Regions from separate parts of the Homo sapiens genome. Here regions 1 and 2 are each linked to region 3. Evidence: promoter capture Hi-C in 16 types of primary human blood cells and fetal thymus (Javierre and others, 2016). All regions are on one chromosome and are shown on one strand. Each heading gives the region's core, a stretch centred on a gene start or on the middle of the fragment in contact. The rest is flanking DNA. Distances are from core to core; before and after follow the strand shown. Region 1 has its middle 18 kb from the start of KLRF1. Region 2 overlaps CLEC1A (C-type lectin domain family 1 member A). Region 3 holds the start of CLEC12A-AS1 (CLEC12A antisense RNA 1).

Region 1 (4,477 bases), core at 1,479-3,978, 140 kb before region 3:
TGTTGAGTGTCATTTGCTTTCACTCTTAAGAATATTTTTTAGTATTTCTTACAAAGTAAGTCTGCTATCAATGGCTTTTCTCAGTTTACTTTTTTGCGGGGAGGGGTGTTCATTTCACTGTCATGTTTGAAAGATAATACAGATAGTGTAACCAGACATAAGACTCTTAGTTGACAGAGTTTTTAAATTTTTAAAATGTAATTTAACTTTTATTTTTACTCAGCACACTGAATATGTCATTCCTATGTTAACTATTATTAACTAATAAAAACAACCATCAAGCAAAAAGTAAAGGTGGGTTGGGACATTTCAACTTACAGTACCAATTTCTTATTAGGAACTGGATTGTATTTATAGGAACTAAAAGGGATAATTATATTTCCCCTCTAATAATGATGCTTCTGTTTTGATATGTTGGTTTATTTTGTATGTGAGTACTTCTTTTTTTTAACTAAAGTAAAACTTGCCTACAGCTCAGTGAATAAAATGCACCAATTTAAATTGTGCAGTTTAATACATTTGACATATGTGTGAATCCATGTAATCACCATTCTGATACATTTGTGGGATAGTTCCAGTACCATAGAAAATTCCTTTGTGCTCCTTCCTGATTAATGCTTTTCCCCCAATGTGTTTGTAAAAGTAAGAAGAAATAATTGGTCTAAAATAAATCTCACTCCACTTGCTTCTTTGAGTCAAATTTACTTGCTTTTTGATTTTTTTTTCAGAATAACAGTGATTTCAAATAATTAGAACTTATGCCCTAGTTGTAATAACAGGTAACTAGGTTCATGGTAATCATCTATATATCCTAATATGTTAGAAAATATATTCACTTAAAGTTAACTAGCTTAAAGATCAATGACAGGATGGTAAGAAAACAGTAGGCTCAAAAAAGACCCGCATCCTCCCCAAAAGCAGGAGTGAATGCTAACAGTAGTTTCTCCATGTACCACAGAATGCTGCAATCATGCAGCCTTGGTTTGGTAGACGTTTGAATCAAAGAGCTTTAGGCAAGAGTTGGCAGAGTGCAATATTAAAAATATAGTTAGCTAAGTCTTAGTAAATATCCATATGTGTAATATGAGTAAGCAGGCAAGTCATGCTAGAATGACCTCGTATTCTTGGTGTTAAAAGACTTATCACATTAATGGTTTTGGAAAACAATGAATGTATCATGTATATGATTTTCACTGAGATGTATGCCACAGAATGCTATAATATCTACATGAAAGCAGTGCTACCTCAGGTTAGGTGCCATTAGTTAGGAGAGAGATCATTTTCTATATGCCAGAATGTTTTGCATTTCATTCTCTCTTACTCCACATTTTATAAATGCTTAGGTTAATATATTCAATGTATAGATGACATACAACTTGGATATCTAATACACTGAGTAATAGAATCATAAACTCCAAACATTCTGCATTTCGGAGAAAATTGAGAGTTTAGCGAGATGAATTTTTTAAGTGTATTAAAATCTAAACTGAAGAAGTTAACAAGATGGGAAGAATTGCCTTTATTTGTAGATGTATGCAAGAGCACTAGGGGAAATTCAATGACCAACAAGCTCAAAATAAGATTGTGTGAAGTAATGAATTTTAGGTAAAATCAATACAAATATATCTAAAAAGAAAGGGTGGGACTTTTTTCCTCCATTCCTGGCCCAATTCTTTGAAATAATTTTTATGTGATTGTTTCAAACCATCTTAACTTTCTCTTAGTTTTCCTCTGCATACATGCACATATGTAAATGCCTACTTTTAAGAGTACAGATGAGAAAAAACAGGGATTTGAATTAGTTGAAACCGTAACTTAAGTATTATTTCCAGGAACTAAAGCTACTTAGCCAGAATCAGGAAAAGGGCTGCTGGGAATAAGTTTGTTAACGTAAATTGTTCCAACAGCTGTCATATTGATGTTACGCTTAGTTTACTGGCTCCAGAAGGCAGAATTGATACCAATTCTTGAAAGAAGCATCCATATACCCCAGTTAATTTTGATTATGTCATGAGATTTTGTGTAGTATTCAAAGATAAATTGTTATTATTGTTGGAAAAAGCGGGTTACTTAGATTTAAACTTAGGTTAAGAAAATTGATTTAAAAAAATAAGTTCCACTTTCAAAAGTTGTTATTCTATTGATAAATCTGTTTTTTTTAATGCTGCTTTATTTGATGTAAAACTACTGTTTTGAAAATATTGACTGTGCCTATGGATTAATGTATCAAACAAAATCACCCCATGAATAAATCAAATATTTATTTATTTACCTGAAGTATACAAAAGGAGAATGACATAAAGATCAATTAGCAAGGTTGATAAATCTGCAAGAAACAAGCTTCTCAGTCCTAAATTTCATCATTAAATCACTGAAACTCAGAGTTGTGAATGACAACATCTGAATAGTGAGTGTCAACATAGATTTTCTACAAGCTTGAGGGTTTTTATCTAGGAACAATTCTGTTTGTAGGTCATCCTGGATATATTCAAGGGACCATTATTTTTGGTATTATACAATATAACTTGATGTTCTCATAGTCAAATGTGAATGCATTTCTCATACTTTATCTGAATCCTCCCAAATTAACAATGTGGTCCAAGTATATTCCCAAAATTAGAGTTTCTGAGCCTGAACGGAAGTTAAGCTCCCAGAAATCGCAGGTAGCTGTGTTAATAAGTGGTTAGAATAACTAGGGCTTATCTTTTGTGTGTCCTTTGATAAATTTAAACAAATTAAATTCCTCTCCAAGATAGGTCTGATTCACAAACTTAATGACTATATGCTTAAATTTTCACCTATAGTTTAATGAAATGTTTGTTTTTAAAAGATGTTTGAAGTCTAAAATAGACTCCCCAAACAGTGTCTGACATGTAATAAGTCCTCAGAAAATAATTCATAAATATTGAATGACTAGTAGGATATTAAAATGTGGTCATTCCTGCTGTTTACTTTTATCTGAGGGCACAAATGTCAAGAACAATTCTATAGGTGCTAGACCTCCTATATAGGACATGCTAACAAGCTTGCAAAAGTGTTTATTTCAAATTTCGATCTATCATCTACTTTCAGAGCACATTAAGAGTTTATGAGTGTTCAGAGATTAGGAAGTGAGAATTTTTTTTATGAAGTGACTTGCCAGTGTACTTCCCATTTCCCAATATCTTTCTGTGTCAATAAGCAAAAGAACTTCTCTTTTACCTTAAGCCAAGTTTGGATTCTGTCATATATTGGCAAGTGTCCTCTGGGAGTTGGAGGTTGCAGAGGTGAACACTTTCAGTATGTGAGTTTGTTAGAACTACACATAACCACAGAGTAAAAGCAGATGTGTAGATTAAGCCACACTTCCAGCAATGGTGAGGCTGAAGGGAGTGTTTCCTGTGGGCCGGATGAAGATCTCATACAAAGCAGCCATTTGGGAACCATCCTAAAATAAAATTCACCTAAGACTGCTTCTTACCACAGGCAAGTCAGCCTCAATGAAAAGAAGCTGGAAGTATAGAGTAGAAAGCAAAAAAAAAAAAGGTACCTGGGGAGTTGTGAGGGGTGAGGTACAGTGATTTGCAAGCAGGATTGCCAAAGGAGACATCACACATCAGACAACTGCAGAGTACCCCAGGAGCAGAATTTCTGAAAAACCCATAGAAGTAGTCCAAAAAAAAAAAAAAAAAGAGAGAAAACATTTGGAGTGTCAGCATACAGATTAAAACTGTCCAGGCTGGTAACATCTTTATTCCGTGTTTATTTCTATTCCCTTTGTTTCACCTTCACTCATTCTGGGGATCAGGGTTGGGGAATGGAAAGAGATACTAGAGAGGGAAGAAGCTCATGCAGAGCCCGTTATACTCACTTGCCCCCTTAATGGTCCCAAACTAAGCAGATCCAATCCAAGCTGAGAGAGAGGAAAAGTGTTAAATTAGATAAAAGTTGGACTTAAGATATTAGGCGGAATTGGATCTTTTATTATCTTCATTATCAAAAGACCATGAGATCCACAAAGGAAGGAAAGGAGAAGACTTTATTTTCAGAGGGAAAAATAACCCTAGAATTAGGGAAATGCAGCTTTCGGGAAAATCCGAAAGTTCACTCTCTGAAGAAGTGAGAGGGGGCTGGTATACATGTCTTATACAGTCAGTTTTACATACATACTGAGCAGGGTTGGGAAAATTCTGTGAATACTTATGAATATTCATGAAGGAAGTCAAGCACTAGTGCATTGGGTAAGCAGATGTAACATGCACCCCACGGTCACTTTGGGATGGTGTTTTAACATTAAATCGGGTGGAATTTGGCTCTTTACCTCAAAAGGTGAACTATAGCGTACAAAAATAGTTTGTACATAATCTCCACAAGCTGTCTGTAACTGGTTTAAGGTCTGTGGCCATTCATCAATAAAGAATGTTTATAAGATTGGGTCTGGCCGGGCGCGGTGGCTCACGCCTGTAATCCCAGCACGTTGGGAGGCCGAGGCGGGCGG
Region 2 (4,385 bases), core at 1,075-3,574, 140 kb after region 3:
GCATTTGACAAAATCCAGCATTCCTTTATGATTAAAACATTCAGCAAAATTGGCATATAAAGGACATACCTCAAAGTTATATATATATATATATATATATATATATATATATATATATATATATTTGTTTTTTTTTTTTTTAGACAGAGTCTCACTCTGTCACCTAGGCTGGAGTGCAGTGCAGTGGTGTGATCTTGGCTCACTGCAATCTCCGCCTCCTGGGTTCAAGCGGTTCTCCTGCCTTGGCCTCCTGAGTAGTTGGGATTACAGATGCCCACCACCATGCCTGGCTAAGTTTTGTATTTTCAGTAGAGACAAGGTTTCACCATGTTAGCCAGGCTGGTCTCCAACTCCTGACCTCAAGCGATTCGCCCGCCTCAGCCTCCCAAAGTGCTGGAATTACAGGCATGAGCCACCATTCCTGGCCTAAAAAAAATGTATAATTTAAATAATTTATCTATGTATATTTATAAATAAATAAATAGAAATGTGGAGTTATAATATTAGTTCCTAACTTCAGGAATAAATTCTTAACCTATATTTACTGCTTGATAAATATTTTTATGTATACTCTCAAATGTTACTCAACATAAAACCGCCAATCTGTTTATATGTTGATCATTATATTGAGTATTGACAATATACCATATATTGTTACTTATTCAGTTATTGAAATAGTGTTATTATTTTTTCCATGATTTTACAGTTTGCAATTAGGATCATTGAGAACAAGTAAATTCCTAACATCATTTGACTAGAAATTTTCAACATTCAGATTTGAAATTCAGGTCTCTACATCTAAGTATAGAAATCCCTCATGAATCATAAGAGTTCCTCTATATTTCCAAGAATAATGGTGATTGCAAAACAATAGTTCTATCACAATGAAACAAAACTTTTGGGATCAAAAAGGGCAACAAGAAGTTATTTTTAATTTTGAAATATAAGACACAAACAGAAGTATTAAAATTCCTATAAAACCCAATTTTTGACATTAAAATCTGCTCTTCTATATAACATTTTTCTTTGAATAACTGTTCAAAGAACAGTTAAAAGAACTGTTCAAAGAACAGTTAAAAGAACTGTTCAAAGAACAGTTATTCAGCTGTTTAGGAAACATTGCTGTGGGGTCTTCACCTACTGAGGCAAATTCATCCACTTTCTTTTTTAAGCTTTTTAACTTGTTTTTACTAGTTTGAAATTTAAATATTTTTAGATATGCTTTTTTCCAATTTGATTTTCACAAGTTTTTGTAAAGTGACTGTATAACTTCCTGGCCTTTAAAAAATATGGTGATTAAGGAGTTTACCTACTCTCCTTGTATTGATGGTACCCGTGGCTCTATGGGTAGCATATTCTGCACTAGCCCACTGAACCTTGTATTCTCAGAGCCCAAACCTCTGATACCCTAGTCTTTTGTGGAATGGGAGAGGGCTGAAGCATGCATTTATTTAAAATAAATGATTTTTTTTAAACATTGACATACAAACAAACAGACAAAACCCTTCTTATCTCAAACAGAATGTTTAATTCTAGTTGGCAACTGATTTTTTTTTTACTTCTTCTTCCATTATTCACTATTTAAATAGTTGCCATTTAAAAAAAGATACACTGAATTTTCCAAAGGCTAAGGAATTAAAGTTTAAAAAACAAATCCATAACAAGTGTTTCTCATCCTAGACAAACCTTGGAACCAGGATCCTCCCCCAGGTCAGAGCGCAGACTTACACAAAAGCCCCAGGGCTGCCAGCCCTATCAGCAGCACCAAGCACAAAGTCAGCAGGGTCAGGGCCACTGGTCGCCACGTTGAAGAGGGAGCCCTGTGCTCTGCAGGGAACAGAAGAGAAAGCAGAGTTTGGCTTTTTCTTCCTCTTGCATCTAAGTCAATAACAGGTAAGGGAGTGGAGTTAATTCTGCACAAGAACAAATTAGGCTGGACAACGGTAACAGGGGCTGGATAACCTGCTTTCTGTCCTCAGAAACATCATCATAAGGCTCAGTGCAAGCCTCACTTATCACAGCTAGATTTTCTCACAAGCCCCACCCGTTTGTATCCACCCCTCAAGTCTTACTTTGCACTGAATCACACTATGCATTACCATTATCTTTATGTGGTTCTTTGTACAACCTTCTGCTTGTCAAAATTCTAATTATGAAAGACTCTCACGAAAATGTCTGAAACACAGCCTGAGAATCTCTGAACCTTACCAAGGGACAACTTTTTACATAATCAGGGGAAAGATGAAATTAATTTGTTGTTACTTTTGAAAAACATCCCCCTTCCCCCAAGTTCCGTATATGCTTTTTCTAAAAGGCAAATTGCATGTTAGTAATGGGAAGTAATAATTTTACTGTTTTTCTGTGGAATTGCTTAATTGAAAGTCCCGCTATTGTAAGGATATTGTTTATTCATTCATTTGATTTATATTTTTTCAAAAATAGATTATAAAGAAACATGATAATCAATTTCAGAAAGATGAATCTAAACTATTTTTGCAACAGTTAAATAATTTTTAAAACTGTGGCAAACATGGTTTCCTCGCCCTCCATTCCCATAAGTTTGACTAGTAATTGCAGAGGTTTTACTGTAAGTCATGAGTAGACCCCTCACCTAGTGAGGTCACCTATCTGAATCTGAATGACCTAACATATCTGAAGGGAAGAGTCTCAGTCAGGTGCAGGTAGCATCTAGCACTGTGATAAAAATGAAACAAAGAGAGAGTGAAACCCTCAAACAAACTGTGATCTCTTTGTAGCCCGTTAGTTCTACTTCACTGAGAATTCAAGTCACGTTCTGAAACAGAAAGATTAAAGAGATCGGAGGGGCTTTTTGAAAGGAAAATTCTTTTCCTTCTAGCAAGGTCCTATACATAATACATTCTAGGTACAGAGATTTTCCAGGCTGGAGTGCAGTGGCGAGATCTCAGCTCACTGCAACCTCCGCCTCCAAGGTTCAAGCAATCCTCCCACCTCAGCTCCTGAGGAGCCGGAACTACAGGCACGTGCCACCACGCCTGGCTAATTTTTTTTTCCTATATTTTTGTTGGAGATGAGGTTTCACCATGTTGCCCAGGCTGCAGGCTGTTCTCTAACTCCTGAGCTCAAGTGATCCTCTAACCCCGCCTCCCAAAGTGCTGGGATTACAGGCATGAGCCACCGCGCCCGGCCAATTCTAGGTAGAGATTTATATGAAACGTTATTTCCAAATGGGGAATGATAACTAGTAAAGAATATAGAAATAGACAGTATAATTACTATCCTCTGGAACTTACAATCTAGTAGGCAAAATAAGTTAAAGTCTCGGAGAAGACATACTGATACATTTTTAAATGTGAATCTTATTTCTTAGCAATCATCTCCTTCATAAGTAGCTTTCATTACATTTAGAATAAAATACAAATCACTTTTCACAGATTGCTCCTTTTTTTAAAAAAAATGGCAATTTTATTATGCTACTTCCCTACTTAAAAACTTCAAAAGCTTTATTGCACTTAAAATTAAATCCTGCATTAGTCTTATTGAGACCTTCCTTAGCTCTTTCATGCCTTTCTGAACTATTTTCCCCTCACTCACATGTACTCCTCACAACGGTCTCCCGTTTAGTCCTTGATCTGATCAAGCTTGACCCTAAGCACCTTGTATCAGCCCTACTTCTGCCTCTGCATTAATTTCAGTTTCAATGGCACATCCTTGGAAGAGGTCCGTAAGTCCATCTCTAGCAGATCACTCACCCTGTACTAGGTAATCTTTTCATGACTTTTGTTTCTTTTTGTCTGTCTCCTTTCTCTCCATTTAACATTCCATTACAACAATGATCTTGTCTATCTTGTCCACCAGTCCATTTCCACTACTGAAAGTAGTGCCTGGGACATAAGGGCTGAGTAAATCTTTGACAGCTTAAATAATCAAAAAATGAAATAATAAAAAATTAATATGACTTAAACTATTTAAGTTTTAAAGAGATAAGTGGGTTCTCCAAAGTTAAGTTTACAGGTTTTTGTTTTTGTTTTTTTTGTAGGCTATTGATTTTCAGCAACATCTATGTCAGCAGAAAACAGACTCAGCTAAATACATCTCCCAGCCATGTTGGTTTCTATACATTGACTTTTGTGAGATTATATCATGAACAAATCTAAGGGAGATTTGCTTCCTCCTGTTTCCTTCAGTTAACTGAGCTATGTGATTTAGTCTTAGTTTTTCTGGAAAAAGATGGTTTTCTCGTGGTATTGACTGTAAAAGTATTTCAGATCAGCAGAACATAAAAAAAAAAAAAGATTAGAGGCAGAATATATAGTTTGGGTTAATCATCCTCTCCAAAACCCTATATTTGTAAACTTCCATACAGTCCAAGAAAGTTAATCATATGGATGTTTCTAGATTCCATA
Region 3 (4,149 bases), core at 1,643-4,142:
TCTTGCTTCAGTCCATAAGCTTTCTGTGACTTGACTTAGAGTAGCAGGCAATTAGTCCATAAAAGAAACATAATGAATATCCTGATGCCTCTCAACCATCTGGAAAATATTAACCGGGCACCGAAATACTTGATAAATGCTGTGAAAAACATGGGATTGGGTGGTGAATAGGTTGACTGACAAGGTATGTAGAAGAGTGGGGAGAGTGTACTTTAGGGTGGGTGGTGAGACTAAGTCACTCTTCTCATTAAAAGAATGTGTGCTGCCTGTACAAATTTGTCTTCATCTTTTTCAGCCAATCCACTCCAATGGGCTTATGGATATGCTGGCCATATTAACAAATTAAGACACAAGATTTCCAGTTAAATTTGAATTTCAATCGACCACAGATAATTGCAGAGACAGCAAATACAAATATTGATGAGCAATACTTACATTAAAAATAAGTCATTTTTACCTGAAATTCAAATTCTGTTTTCCCACACATAGCTACATTATTTCCTGCACGTAGCTACATCCCTCCTCTGCTATGTAAACCCCCAATTTCAGTCACTTGGGGAGATGAATTTGAGACTGATCTGCAGTTCTTCTCAGCTGCAGCAACTGAATAAAGTCATCTCCCCTGGAAATACTTGCCTCAGTGATTGGCATTCTGTGCAATGAGTAACGGGACCTAGGCTGAACCTCTGGCATTTCAGTAACAGATTTTGGTTCCCTCATCAGGAAGACATTGCTCTTGGCTTGGCTGTCACCAGTTGGGAGAATTTCCGCAACCCTAAGCAGCAGCCTATGTGTTTTAGGCAGGATGTGGGTTTTAGTCTTTCTATTTAGCATTGCTGCTGCCAGCCCCAACCACATTTCTGATTGCCTAGGAAGAACAGCCTTTCAAATTTGACTTCTGCATGTGGATAGGTGAGTGTCTTTTGTGGATACCGACAGTGGGAATGGCTCCTCTCAATTTGAGAAATTCTGAAGGAATTTCCATTGGCAAGTTCAGCAAGGCCAACTGACGGAGAGAGGAAGCACCCTGACTGTTCCAGTTCAGACACTCTTGGGGCTTGTTAGTAATTGAGTATGTGTCTGGATAAGTGAGTGTCATTTGTGGGTCCAGACAGCAGGATCTGCTTTTCTCAATTTGAGAAATTCCGAAGGAATCTCCATTTGCAGATTGAACTAGCCCAACAAACAGGGAGAAAGCAACTCAACTGTTTCAGTTTGGACTCTCTTGGGACTTGCTTATTGTTGCAGCAGTTAGATTGTATTCTGGTGGTTGTTTGTGTGTTGATGTAGTTGTGGGAGATCAGGGTTTGATCTGAGTGCAGACCGCTTGGGTGTATTCTTCAGGGTTGGTCTGCATGTGGCTGTGGGCCAGTGGAGTGAGGGAACATCTCTACCCGTATCACGCTGAACATGCCCAATCTCATCTGATCTCAGACAGTCTTTGAATTGTAGCACTGCCTTATATTTGGATTTATTTTGCTGTTGAATGTGAATATGGGATGGAAGTCCATGTCTCCAGGCTTCTATGCTGCTGCTCTAAGGACAGGCAGGCCTGATTAGTATGTGCTGCTGTTTGGCTACAGAGTTCTTTGGAGTCTGGAGAGATTTGGCCTTTAAAAATCAAACTGTCAGACCCTGTCTCAAGGAAAAAAAAAAAAACAGGATGTGAGCGCTCTCCCTCTCCCTCTCCCTCTCCCTCTCCGTCTCCCTCTCCCTCTCCCTCTCCGTCTCCCTCTCCCTCTCCCTCTCCGTCTCCCTCTCCCTCTCCCCACGGTCTCCCTCTCATGTGGAGCCGAAGCTGGACTGTACTGCTGCCATCTCGGCTCACTGCAACCTCCCTGCCTGATTCTCCTGCCTCAGCCTGCCGAGTGCCTGCGATTGCAGGCACGCACCACCACGCCTGACTGGTTTTGGTGGAGACGGGGTTTCGCTGTGTTGGCCGGGCCGGTCTCCAGCCCCTAACCGCGAGTGATCCGCCAGCCTTGGCCTCCCGAGGTGCCGGGATTGCAGACGGAGTCTCGTTCACTCAGTGCTCAATGGTGCCCAGGCTGGAGTGCAGTGGCGTGATCTCGGCTCACTACAACCTACACCTCCCAGCAACCTGCCTTGGCCTCCCAAAGTGCCGAGATTGCAGCCTCTGCCCGGCCGCCACCCCGTCTGGGAAGTGAGGAGTGTCTCCGCCTGGCCACCCATCGTCTGGGATGTGAGGAGCCCCTCTGCCTGGCTGCCCAGTCTGGAAAGTGAGGAGCGTCTCCGCCCGGCCGCCATCCCATCTAGGAAGTGAGGAGCGCCTCTTCCCAGCCGCCATCACATCTAGGAAGTGAGGAGCGTCTCTGCCCGGCCGCCCATCGTCTGAGATGTGGGGAGCGCCTCTGCCCCGCCGCCCCATCTGGGATGTGAGGAGCGCCTCTGCCCGGCCGAGACCCCGTCTGGGAGGTGAGGAGCGTCTCTGCCCGGCCGCCCCGTCTGAGAAGTGAGGAGACCCTCTGCCTGGCAACCACCCCGTCTGAGAAGTGAGGAGCCCCTCCGCCCGGCAGCCGCCCCGTCTGAGAAGTGAGGAGCCTCTCCGCCCGGCAGCCACCCCATCTGGGAAGTGAGGAGCGTCTCCGCCCAGCAGCCACCCCGTCCGGGAGGGAGGTGGGGGGGGTTAGCCCTCCGCCCGGCCAGCCGCCCCATCCGGGAGGGAGGTGGGGGGTCAGCCCCCCGCCTGGCCAGCCATGCCGTCCGGGAGGGAGGTGGGGGGGTCAGCCCCCTGCCCGGCCAGCCGCCCCGTCCAGGAGGTGAGGGGCGCCTCTGCCCGCCCCCCCCTACTGGGAAGTGAGGAGCCCCTCAGCCCGGCCAGCCACCCCGTCTGGGACGGAGATGGGGGGTCAGCCCCCCCGCCCAGCCAGCTGCCCCGTCCGGGAGGGAGGTGGGGGGGTCAGCCCCCCGCCTGGCCAGCCGCCCCGTCCGGGAGGGAGGTGGGGGGGTCAGCCCCCCGCCTGGCCAGCCGCCCCGTCCGGGAGGGAGGTGGGGGGGGTCAGCCCCCCCGCCCAGCCAGCCGCCCCGTCCGGGAGGTGAGGGGCGCCTCTGCCCGGCCGCCCCCTACTGGGAAGTGAGGAGCCCCTCTGCCTGGCCAGCCGCCCCGTCCGGGAGGGAGGTGGGGGGGTCAGCCCCCTGCCCGGCCAGCCGCCCCGTCCGGGAGGTGAGGGGCGCCTCTGCCCGGCCGCCCCTACTGGGAAGTGAGGAGCCCCTCTGCCCGGCCACCACCCCGTCTGGGAGGTGTGCCCAGCAGCTCATTGAGAACGGGCCAGGATGACAATGGCGGCTTTGTGGAATAGAAAGGCGGGAAAGGTGGGGAAAAGATTGAGAAATGGGATGGTTGCCGTGTCTGTGTAGAAAGAAGTAGACATGGGAGACTTTTCATTTTGTTCTGCACTAAGAAAGATTCTTCTGCCTTGGGATCCTGTTGATCTGTGACCTTACCCCCAACCCTGTGCTCTCTGAAACATGTGCTGTGTCCACTCAGGGTTAAATGGATTAAGGGCGGTGCAAGATGTGCTTTGTTAAACAGATGCTTGAAGGCAGCATGCTCGTTAAGAGTCATCACCAATCCCTAATCTCAAGTAATCAGGGACACAAACACTGCGGAAGGCCGCAGGGTCCTCTGCCTAGGAAAACCAGAGACCTTTGTTCACTTGTTTATCTGCTGACCTTCCCTCCACTATTGTCCCATGACCCTGCCAAATCCCCTCTGTGAGAAACACCCAAGAATTATCAATAAAAAAAAAAAAAAAAAAAAAAAAAAAATCAAACTGTCAGCTGGGCGCAAGAAACTGAGGTGGGCAGATACTTGAGCCCAGGAGTTCGAGACCAGCCTGGGCAACATGGTGAAACCCTGTCTCTACAAAAAATACAAATATTAGCTGGGTGTAATGGTGCATACCTGTAGTCCCAGCTACTCAGGAGGCTGAGGTGGGAGGATTACCTGAGCCTGGGAGGTTGAGGCTGCAGTGAGCCTTGATCACACCACTGCACTTCCAGCCTGGGTGACGGAGATCCTGTCTCAAAAAAAAAAATAATCAAACTATCATGGAAACTGCTTTATTCAAAATTTTGTTTCACAACCTTTATTGGATTACCTATCAGAACAAATAAAGTTCAACCATG

Evidence for each region. Contacts are between HindIII fragments. The CHiCAGO score rates a contact against its expected background, and 5 or more counts as called.
Region 1: a contact is called between a fragment that was not itself captured here and the fragment with the promoter of CLEC12A-AS1 in region 3, in 9 of 17 cell types (activated CD4 T cells, neutrophils, naive B cells and 6 more). The highest score is 7.0, in activated CD4 T cells.
Region 2: a fragment that was not itself captured here is called in contact with the fragment with the promoter of CLEC12A-AS1 in region 3 in 1 of 17 cell types (neutrophils); the score reaches 5.5 in neutrophils.

Annotation. Positions count from the first base shown.
Region 1 is chr12:9,807,666-9,812,142 of GRCh38, forward strand. It overlaps a transcript of KLRF1 not described here. Among named protein-coding and RNA genes, the nearest start is that of KLRF1, 18 kb to the right of the region's middle. The HindIII fragment of the contact is 590 bases long and covers 2,434-3,023 here.
Region 2 is chr12:10,087,396-10,091,780 of GRCh38, forward strand. It overlaps CLEC1A (C-type lectin domain family 1 member A), which reads right to left. Exons shown (of 6, transcript NM_016511.4): 2 at 1,729-1,827. Among named protein-coding and RNA genes, the nearest start is that of CLEC1A, 9.4 kb to the right of the region's middle. The HindIII fragment of the contact is 2,308 bases long and covers 1,171-3,478 here.
Region 3 is chr12:9,950,445-9,954,593 of GRCh38, forward strand. It overlaps CLEC12A-AS1 (CLEC12A antisense RNA 1), which reads right to left and starts at 2,893. Exons shown (of 3, transcript NR_135047.1): 1 at 2,106-2,893; 2 at 458-1,635. It overlaps LOC124902874 (a long non-coding RNA gene), which reads left to right and starts at 1,213. Exons shown (of 2, transcript XR_007063207.1): 1 at 1,213-2,593. It also overlaps a transcript of CLEC12A not described here. The HindIII fragment of the contact is 17,088 bases long and covers 18-4,149 here.